Linked DNA regions of Homo sapiens: region 2 is linked to region 1. The links are contacts of gene promoters, found by promoter capture Hi-C in blood cells and fetal thymus (Javierre and others, 2016). All regions are on one chromosome and are shown on one strand. Each heading gives the region's core, a stretch centred on a gene start or on the middle of the fragment in contact. The rest is flanking DNA. Distances are from core to core; before and after follow the strand shown.

Evidence for each region. Contacts are between HindIII fragments. The CHiCAGO score rates a contact against its expected background, and 5 or more counts as called.
Region 2: the fragment with the promoter of AKR1A1 here is called in contact with the fragment with the promoter of MUTYH in region 1 in 13 of 17 cell types (naive B cells, naive CD4 T cells, total B cells and 10 more); the score reaches 8.6 in naive B cells.

Annotation. Positions count from the first base shown.
Region 1 is chr1:45,338,326-45,343,695 of GRCh38, forward strand. It overlaps MUTYH (mutY DNA glycosylase), which reads right to left and starts at 1,645. Exons shown (of 16, transcript NM_001048174.2): 1 at 1,574-1,645. TOE1 (target of EGR1, exonuclease) reads left to right here and starts at 1,845. Exons shown (of 8, transcript NM_025077.4): 1 at 1,845-1,979; 2 at 2,748-2,890; 3 at 2,978-3,018; 4 at 3,148-3,244; 5 at 3,624-3,782; 6 at 4,059-4,318; 7 at 4,518-4,677; 8 at 4,757-5,370. The coding sequence starts at 1,928. RefSeq lists enhancers at 1,167-1,834, 1,835-2,503, 1,856-2,205, 2,504-3,170. The HindIII fragment of the contact is 741 bases long and covers 1,326-2,066 here.
Region 2 is chr1:45,547,497-45,552,769 of GRCh38, forward strand. It overlaps AKR1A1 (aldo-keto reductase family 1 member A1), which reads left to right and starts at 3,330. Exons shown (of 9, transcript NM_153326.3): 1 at 3,330-3,659. RefSeq lists enhancers at 3,013-3,072, 3,123-3,352, 3,583-3,802. The HindIII fragment of the contact is 4,529 bases long and covers 1-3,906 here.

The sequences.
Region 1 (5,370 bases), core at 395-2,894:
TAGTTGCTTAAACACCTCAAGTGTGTCTGCCCACCTTGGGGCCTCACACAATCCATTTCCTCTGTTTGGACTCTTTTATGCTTTTACCTAACACCTTATCATTTTTCAAGTCTTGACTGAAATGTCCAAATCAGGTCCCCTCATCTTATCCTATCACATATTTCTGCCTTGTAGCTCTTACCTAATGTAATTTTACATTACTTTGATTCTTTCCATCAGTGTGTACTTCCTGAATTTGACTGTAAAAAACGACTTGAGTGCAAGGACTGATTCTCTTGTTGATTGGTGTGTGTCCAAAGTCAGTGCCAGGTAAACTGTACACAATAGATACCTGTTAAATGAATTAATGGGATGGGGGATAGTCAAAAGAGTTTCCCTTTTTTAGGATAGGAGAAATCCAAAGAGTTTTTTTATTTTTGTTTTTTTTTTGTTTGTTTGTTTTGTTTTTAGAGACAGTGTGTCCCTCACTTTGCTGCTCTGCCACTCAGGCTGGAGTGCAATAAGAACATGGCTCACTGCAGCCTCGACCTCCTGGGCTCAAGCCATCCTCTCACCTCAGCCTCCTGTAGCTGGGACTACAGGTGCGCACCACCATGCCCAACTAATTTTTAATTTTCTTTTTGTAGAGACAAGGTTTCACTATGTTGCCCAGGCTAGTCTTGAACTCCTAGGGTCAAGCGATCCTCCCACCTTGGCCTCCTAAGATGATTACAGGCCATAAGCCACTGCGCCCGGCCCAAGCAGTTCTGAATAATGATGAAATGGGCTCAGTTGAGAGAAGCTGAAGATTAACTATAAACAATGAGTAACAAAGGAGCACTGGAAGGCAGAGGTGGATGGGAATCGTAGTGTTTACGGAGGGACTAGTCTCCAATAGGAATTTTTTTTTTTTTTTTTTTTTTGAGACGGAGTTTCGCTCTTGTTGCCTAGGCTGAAGTGCAAAATGGCGTGATCTCGGCTCACCGCAACCTCTGCCTCCCAGGTTCAAGCGATTCTCCTGCCTCAGCCTCCCAAGTAGTGGGATTACAGGCGCCCGCACCATACCCAGCTAATTTTTTTTGTACTTTTAGTAGAGACGGGGTTTCACCATGTTGGCCAGGCTGGTTTTGAACTCCGGACCTCAGGTAATCCGCCCGCCTCGGCCTCCCAAAGTGCTGGGATTACAGGCGTGAGCCACCGCGCCCGGCCTAGGAACCTCTTTCAAATTCAATCACCCTCTAGGTCGACTATACCGCCTAGCTGCTTCACAATTTGTCCCTTCCTCGCCATCCATACTGCCAGCCTTAATTCAAGTTCACATTATCACTTGATTGGATTATTACAAAAGCTTCCCTACCAATCGGTCGCTCTTACACCCTGGGCAGCCTCCTCCGATGGCCCACTCCCCGCCTCTTTCACTTTCTGGAGATCACTGAGCTCTCCATCCTCTCTGGGAATTTACCGATGCCCAGAACGCCCTTCTTTCCCCCACACGACCCTCTCCTAGTCTAACTCCTGGGCGTGCTTTAAGCTCAGCTCAGGCAGCGTCACCTTCTCTGGAAAGCCCAAACCCAGCCACCCCACTACCCGCTACCCGCGGCCCACGCTGATGAAGACAGCAGAACACGGAGGCCCCGCGTTCCCGCCGCGAGAGCAGGAGAGAAAGATTACCTCCCGCGAGCTCTAGCGCGCCCGGCTTTCCGGCGCACTCCAGGGGGCGTGGCTCGGGTCCACCCGGGCTGCGAGCCGGCAGCACAGGCCAATAGGCAATTAGCGCGCGCCAGGCTGCCTTCCCCGCGCCGGACCCGGGACGTCTGAACGGAAGTTCGACCCATCGGCGACCCGACGGCGAGACCCCGCCCCATCCCCGACTGCCTGAACCGCGCCAGGAGACGGACCGCAAGTCCAGCGTACCCACAGACGACTCAGGCGGGAGACGAGCGGTGTCATGGCCGCCGACAGTGACGATGGCGCAGTTTCAGCTCCCGCAGCTTCCGACGGTGAGCGGCTTCCCAGAGGTAGCCTTCAAAGCCTCTGCGCTCTGGGAGAGGGGAAGGCCTCGGGCTCATAGTTCTAGAGGCTCCTCAAGCTTCAGAGGACTGCTCCTTCCGCCTGAACTAGCCACGAGGAGACTACAAGTTCCGTTGTACACCGCGGCTCCGGCTGCAAAAGCCTGGAGCGTTGGGAGCATGGGGCTGATGGAGGCATGGCGGGAGATGTAGTCTGGAGCTCATAACGGTTAGTAGTAATAGTTGTGATTCAGTTCAGTGGAGTGGATTGAGCGTTGTGATCCAAAGGAAGGTAGGACGTATTGGGAGCTCTGGTGTGGGGCACTGCCAGGCTCTGGGGCTTACTGGGAGCTGTTGCTTGTGGCGCTGGGGCACCATGAGAACAGTAGTATGGATCCCTGTGGGATATTAAGGGAGCTGAGATCCTCAAGCCCTACAAAATGTTTCCTGCAGGACATGGGAAAAAAGAATCAAAGGTCGTCTAGTCCAACTTTCTCCTCTACAGATTGTGAAAGCGAGGTGGGAAGTAATTTACCCAGGCTCATACAAGCCAGTAGAAGACTCAGGCTTCCTCTCCCCAAATTCAGGGCATTCTCCACTCCAAGGCCTGTGTGTAGAACACGTGGGTTACAAAGGCTTGTGGGAAAAGCTACCAATGGAAACTACCCCCCTTACCACCATCACCGTGGCCTAGCTTGGTGTCTGTTCCCCTGGGCTCTTTCCTTAAGCATGAACATCCATCACCCTCCTAACCCCCAGGTGGTGTCAGCAAAAGCACAACATCTGGGGAGGAGCTAGTAGTCCAGGTTCCCGTAGTGGATGTGCAAAGCAACAACTTCAAGGAGATGTGGCCATCCCTCCTGCTAGCCATAAAGACAGCTAATTTCGTGGCTGTGGACACGGTGAGAGTTGGGAAACAAGGAGGGCAGGTGGTTGTGAAGGGGCTGGTGCTAGAGGCCTGTCACAACTCTCCCTTTACCTACCCACAGGAGCTGAGTGGGCTTGGGGACAGGAAGAGTTTGCTGAACCAGTAAGTATAAGCCCTTTTCTCTTTAGTGCCAGCCCTCAACTGTGGAGTGGGGGGGTCACAGACCTGGGTGGTTTGGGTCCTTCATAAGGCTAACTCCTAGCCACAGCAACCCCCATACCCAACCCCAAGGTGCATTGAGGAACGTTACAAGGCCGTGTGTCATGCTGCCAGGACCCGTTCTATCCTTTCCCTGGGCCTCGCCTGCTTCAAGCGGCAGCCAGACAAGGTATGAGCTGATCTCACCCCAATCCTAGGTGTGGCTGTGGGGTGGAGGGTAGAGAGATTCTAGGGAACATCAGATAGGAAGCATTTCTCTCCCAAATCTTTTTTTTTGACTTGATAGTTTTTTTTTTTTTATTTGAATAGGTTTATGGGGAACAGGTGGTGTTTGGTTAAATGAGTAAGTTCTTTAGTGGCAATTTCTGAGATTTTGGTGCACCTATCACCCAGTGTACACTGTGCCCAATGCGTAGTCTTTTATCCCTCACCTGCCTCCATCCTTTCCCCCCTGAGTCCCCAGAGTCCATTGTATCATTCTTAAGCTTTTGCATCCTCCTAGCTTGGCTCTCTGAAATCTTGATATAGCAGACTTCTCTTTCTCCCAGGGTGAACATTCCTATCTGGCTCAAGTGTTCAATCTCACTCTGCTGTGCATGGAGGAGTATGTCATAGAACCAAAGTCTGTGCAGTTCCTGATACAGCATGGCTTCAACTTCAACCAGCAGTATGCCCAAGGCATCCCCTACCATAAGGGCAATGACAAGGTAGGCCTCTAGCCTCCCTAGCCTTGAGTCTGCCCTTTCTGTGACTTTATTTCTTCCTACCCTAGGCTGGATGTCTGGGGAGAATCTGCTTCTTAGGGAGTATGGGGAATCACTAGTGACAGGGCTTGGGAAACAAGACTGGTATGAGGAGGGTGGGCAGCATTGGGTAAGGTAGAGAGAGAGCGTTCCAAGTGGGGAAGTCTGGGATAAGTGCCCAGCAGAAGAGGCTCCCTGGGGGACTCTGTCCTCCTCATTGACCCCTTTACTTTCATCTAGGGTGATGAGAGCCAGAGCCAGTCAGTACGGACCCTATTCCTGGAGCTAATCCGAGCCCGCCGGCCCCTGGTGCTACACAATGGCCTTATAGACTTGGTGTTCCTGTACCAGAACTTCTATGCACACCTCCCTGAGAGTCTGGGAACCTTCACCGCTGACCTGTGTGAGATGTTCCCAGCAGGCATTTATGACACCAAATATGCTGCTGAGTTTCATGCCCGTTTCGTGGCCTCCTACTTAGAATATGCCTTCCGGAAATGGTGAGGAAATGGTTGAGGGAAAGGGGTGGGGCCTGATACGAGTTTATTTCATTCACTTAAGATATTTATTGAGCTCCTACCATGTGCCCAGGCAGTGTTTTAGGTGCTGAGGATTCAGCAGTGAACAAAACAGACCACAAAACCCTGCTCTTATGGAGCTTATATGCTAGTGGACCATTACCCTCTTGCGCTGTTGCAGTGAACGGGAAAATGGGAAGCAGCGGGCAGCTGGCAGCCCACACCTTACCCTGGAGTTCTGCAACTATCCTTCCAGCATGAGGGACCATATTGATTACCGCTGCTGCCTGCCCCCAGCAACCCACCGTCCTCATCCCACCAGCATCTGTGACAACTTCTCGGTGAGAGCACCCACCTGTTTCTTGGGAGGGAAGGTTCTGATGCCTGGAGCCTCTTTCTAAGCCTCTTTCCCACCCCTAGGCTTATGGCTGGTGCCCCCTGGGACCACAGTGTCCTCAGTCTCACGATATTGACCTTATCATTGACACTGATGAGGCTGCGGCAGAGGACAAGCGGCGACGGCGACGACGTAGGGAAAAACGGAAGAGGGCTTTATTGAACCTACCGGGGACACAGACCTCTGGGGAAGCTAAGGATGGTCCTCCCAAGAAGCAGGTCTGTGGGGATAGCATCAAGCCTGAAGAAACCGAGCAGGAGGTGGCTGCCGATGAAACTAGGAACCTGCCTCACTCCAAGCAAGGCAACAAAAATGACTTAGAGATGGGGATTAAGGCAGCAAGGCCTGAAATAGCTGATAGAGCTACCTCAGAAGTGCCAGGGAGCCAAGCCAGTCCTAACCCAGTGCCTGGGGATGGATTGCACCGGGCTGGTTTTGATGCCTTTATGACAGGTTATGTGATGGCCTATGTGGAAGTGAGCCAGGGACCGCAGCCCTGCAGCTCTGGACCCTGGCTCCCTGAATGCCACAATAAGGTATATTTGAGTGGCAAAGCTGTACCCCTCACAGTGGCCAAGAGCCAGTTCTCTCGTTCCTCCAAAGCCCACAATCAGAAGATGAAGCTCACTTGGGGCAG
Region 2 (5,273 bases), core at 2,080-4,579, 210 kb after region 1:
CCACCAAATCCAAAAGTTTCTGCTGTGGATATCAGACAACATGAATATAAAGACTATGGTAAGTAGTGGATGCTCAATAAAGTGGTTGTTCTTATATTCTTATTTGCTCACTTCTGTTTTTTTGTTTTTTAAAAATTATTATTTATTTTTGAGATGGAGTCTTGCTCTGTCGCCCAGACTGGAGTGCAGTGGCACCATCTCGGCTCACTGCAACCTCTGCCTCCCAGGTTCAAGCAATTCTCCTGCCTCAGCCTCTCAAGTAGCTGGGATTACAGGCACCTGCCACCATGCCCAGCTAATTTTTGTATTTTTAGTATTGATGGGATTTCACCATGTTGGCCAGGCTGGCCTCGAACTCCTGACCTCAGGTGATTGGCCCGCCTCGGTCTCCCAAAGTCCTGGGATTACGGGTGTGAGCCACCACACCTGGCCTGTTTGTTTTTAGACAGGGTCCTTGGTAAAAAGAATTTGAGGGGAAAAAAAAAAAGAGACAAGGTTTTGCTCTGTTGTCTAGGCTGGAGTAGAATGGCACAATCATGACACACTACAGCCTCGAAGACCTGGGCTCCAGCAATCCTCCCACTTCAGTCTCCTAAACACCTGGGACTATAGGTGTGCACCACCGTGCCCAGCTAATTTTTATATTTTTTGTAGAGATGAGGTTTCACTATATTGCCCAGGCTGGTCTTGAACTACTAGGCTCAAGTGATCCTCCCTTCTTAGTCTTCCACAGTGCCGGGATTACAGCCATGAGCTACTGTGCCTGGCCTGTAGGTTCTTCTTTTACGTATTTTTTTTTTTTTGAGACGGAGACTTGCTCTGTCACCCAGGCTGGAGTGTAGTGGTGCGGCTCACTGCAACCTCTGCCTCCTGGGTTCAGGCGATTCTCCTCCCTCAACCTCCTGAGTAGCTGGGACTGCAGGCGCGTGCCACCATGCCCAGCTAATTTTTGTATTTTTAGTAAAGACGGGGTTTCACCATATTGGCCAGGCTGGTCTCGAACTCTTGACCTCGTGATCTGCCCGCCTTGTGCTGGGATTACAGGCGTGAGCTACTGCGCCCGGCCCCTTTTTTTTTGAGACAGAGTTTTGCTCTTGCTGCCCAGGCTAGAGTGCAATGGCACAATCTTGCCAAACGCAACCTCTGCCTCCTGGGTTCAAGTGATTCTTCTGCCTCAGCCTCCTGAGTAGCTGGGATTACAGGGATGTGCCACCTCACCTGGCTAATTTTGTATTTTTAGTAGAGATGGGGGTTCTCCATGTTGGTCAGGCTGGTCTCGAACTCCTCACCTCAGGTGATCTGCCTACCTCGGCCTCCCAAAGTGCTGGGATTACAGGCGTGAGCCACCATGCCTGGCCTATTTTATTTTTTTTTGAATACAGGCTGGAGTGCAGTGGCGCGATCTCAGCTCACTGCAACCTCCGCCTCCCTGGTTCAAGTGATTCTGTTGCCTCAGGCTCCCAAGTAGCTGGGATTACAGGCTCGCATCAATACATCCAGCTAATTTTTTTTTTTTTTTTTTTTTTTTTTTTTTTTTGAGGGGCAGTCTCGCTTTGTCAAGAGGCTAGAGTGCAGTGGCTCGATCTCGGCTCACTGAAACCTCCGCCTCCCGGGTTCAAGCGATTCTCCTGCCTCAGCGTCCTGAGTATCTGGGACTACAGGTGCGCGCCACGACGCCTAGCTGAATTTTTTTTTTTTTTTTTTTTGAGATGGAGTTTCACTCTTGTTGCCCAGGCTGGAGCGCAATGGCGCAATCTCAGCTCACCACAACCTCCGCCTCCCAGGTTCAAGCAATTCTCCTGCCTCAGCCTCCCGAGTAGCTGGGATTACAGGCATGTGCCACCACGCCCGGCTAATTTTGTATTTTTAATAGAGACGGGGATTCTCCATGTTGGTCAGGCTGGTCTCTAACTCCTGACCTCAGGTGATCCGCCTGCCTCGGCCTCCCAGAGTGCTGGAATTACAGGCGTGAGCCACCGCACCCGGCCAAGTCTGATTGTTTTTATGAGGATGGCCTGATACATTAGACATTTGGTCCACCAGGACATCACTTATGTTGGGGAGACAGTGGGGGATAACGGGGGTGGGGAAATGGGAAGAGTTGCTCTCAGGGAGTAAAGGTGTGGGGAAAAGCAGAGCCAAACCGAGATAACCCTGTGTCTTGCCCATCCCTGCCAAGGAAAACACATACATGCAAGACACCTCTCCACTCAAACAGCACAGACTATTTCAAATCGCAGATGTGTCATTTAATTAATACCTGTGTGACTTTGGGAAAATTATAAATAGCCTTAACCTTGCTGAGTCTGTCCAATCTGTAAAATGGATTATGAATACTTTCCTCACAGGCTTATGGTGTGCTGGTAATATCTTCCTCTGGATGGCAGTTACATTGCAAAAAATAATTTAAAAAAAAGAACTGTATACATTTAAGATTTATACATTTTCTTTCTTCCTGGATGTAGAATAGGAAAAAAAGAAAAAGAAAAAAAAAAAGACTGGTGTATTTTCTGTATATATGCTATACTACGATTTTTAAAAAGGCTTGTACGAAATAAAAGAATATTCCTTTTCGGCCAGGCGCAGTGGCTCACTCCTGTAATCCCAGCACTTTGGGAGTCCAGGGCGGGTGGATCACGAGGTCAGGAGTTCAAGACCAGCCTGGCCAAGATGGCGAAACCCCGTCTCTACTAAAAAATACAAAAAAATTAGCCAGGCGTGGTATCGGGCGCCTGTAATCCCAGCTACTCGGGAGGCTGAGGCAGAGAATTGCTTGAACCAGGGAGGCGGAGGTTGCAGTGAGCCAAGATCGCGCCACTGCACTCCAGCCTGGGCGAGAGCGAGATTCCGTCTCAAAAAAAAAAAAAAAAAAGGAATATTCCTTTTCCAGGATTATTATGAAGATTCAATAAAACCATGTTTATTAAGTGTTAAGCACAGTGCCTGGCACATAACGTGCTGGGCGGGGTCTATGGTCCAGACAGGGGGACCAGGCACTTTCCAGCGCCTGGATCTGCAGACGCGAGGTCTTCTGTATTCTGGCCAATCTTGGTGTTGCAGCTGCTCTCTGGGCCTCAGTTTGCTTGAACTAAATGTAACGGGGCCAACTTAGGTGAACTTTGGGAATCCAGCCAACCTGACTTTAGGGAGAGTATGGAGCCACGGATGGCATTGTGAATCCGGAGGGCCGACACCAGAAGAACCTGCAACGTGGCATCTGCTACCTTACTTCCCCCGGAAAAGCGCCTGCGGCGGCGCCTAGGCGCGCGGTGCAATGTGGGCCAGCAAAAGGCGAGGCTGGCCCCGCCCCTTGCACCGCCCACGTGGCCAGCGCCACCTGCCTCATTGTGCCCAGGAGTTCTCCAAACCCGCGCTGCGGAGTGAGTGACCAAGTTCCGGCCAGTTCGACCTCGAGGATCCAGAGGTGGAGACGGTACTACCTCCCAGCTCTGTTTTCCATCCCCTTCAGGTCCTTCCTCGGGAGGCGGCGAAGGCGGTCCACCCTGCGCGTGATCCTTTATGCCCGGCCCCTGCCCCTCCCTCCGGGTGGAACTTCCCCCTCACCGCCAGACTTAAGCTGAGGATCGTTGGATCTCTGGCGGGGTGCAGAACTGAGCCCAGGCCACAGTACCCTATTCACGCTCTGTGCTTGTGCCAAGGTGAGTTTCTCTTGCTGCTGGCCTATCTTTCTCCCGGAGGAGATGGCCTCGATTCTTTACTACTGAAATGTAAGCCCCTGGGGTTGAGTGGAGAGCGCAGAGCACTGGAGGGGACGAGACTTGGTTTCGGATTTGAGCTCTTCTTTTTCTCTGTATGATCTCTTGCTAACTTCCCAGTTTCTCTGAACCTGTTTCCTCAGCAATAAAATGAGGTCCTACATTAGAACTGTAGCAAGAATTGAGATAAAGCTTTGAAGGCGCACAGCGCATACTAGGTGATCTGCAAGTTTTAATTGCCATCTTTTTGTTTGCTCACCTATGTGCTTTTTCCAGCTGCTCCGGCTTTCTTATGCAGGTGCAGGGATAGTTCTCAGAAGTGGGGAGAAGTGGGGATAATTCTCTTACTTAGACACCTGCTTTGGGTCTGAGAAAGTCTGACATGTTATTCTGTTGCCCCAGAACTCTGTTAAAGTAAGACACAGATCTGAACCTTCACTGGATGAGGCTACTGTTAATTAACTCTTCCCCTTCAGATCGTTCATACTCAGGGCTGCAGGCCTGTTACTTTTCCAAGATCTGTTTCCTTATCTTTAATACAGGAGCAATCTCAGTATGATTCTATCTGGTCCACTGGGATTTTTTGCCGAGTATAGTAAAGTGCTTTGATATTCTCCAAGAGGATTCTTTTCAGGTTTTCCAACAGGTAAAGGAAGAAGGTGACAGAGGCAGCGACTTCCTCAAATGTCCTTCCAGCTGGCCAAACTCAACCTGTCAAGATCTCTCCCCCATAAGCTGTGTGTGTGTGGTGTGTGTATTGTGTACATTGTATGTATGTATGTATGTATGTATGTATGTATGTATGTATGGGACAGGTACTCTAGGAGTGAGGGGTTCAGGCAGATGACAGGCTCAGACCTCAAGGAGTAGCCAGGTTTGTGGGGGAAATTTATATATAAACAGAAAAATGTAGTGATGTGCACATGCTATCAGTACATGGAAGTAGCCATCCATTTATTTATTTATTTATTTTCTTTTTAGAGATGGATGGGGGTCTCTCGGTCTTTTGCCCATGCTGGAGTGTAGTGGTGGAATCCTTGCTCAGTGCAGCCTCAAACTTCTGGGCTCAAATAATCCTGCCACCTCAGCCTTTGGACTATAAACTACATGCCACTGTGCCCAGTTAATCTTTAAAATAAAAAAAAAAAAATTCCCCCTAGCAAGCAGACTCAGAAAGAAAAAAACAAATTTTTGTAGAGACAGTGTTTCCTTTTGTTGCCCAGGTTTCAAGTGATCCTCCCGCCTCAGCCTGCCCAGGTGCTGAGATTACATGTATGAGCCACTGCACCTGGAAAGGAGCCAGAAATGTGAAGTGCTAGCTGAAGGATGAGCAGCAGCTAGCCAGGCAAAGGTAGGGTTTGGGGAAGGAAAGTGCACACACCTAGAGTCAGGTAAGTGATGTGACCCTGTTGAGTGTTCAAAGTCTGGAATACAGTCTGACATGAGGAGGTGGTGAAATGAGAAAGATAGAAGCCAGGTTTTGAGAAGCCTGGACTTTATCCTGAATATAGGGGAGAATTGCTGGAAGGGTTTGAGACTGGGAGTCACATGGTTGGA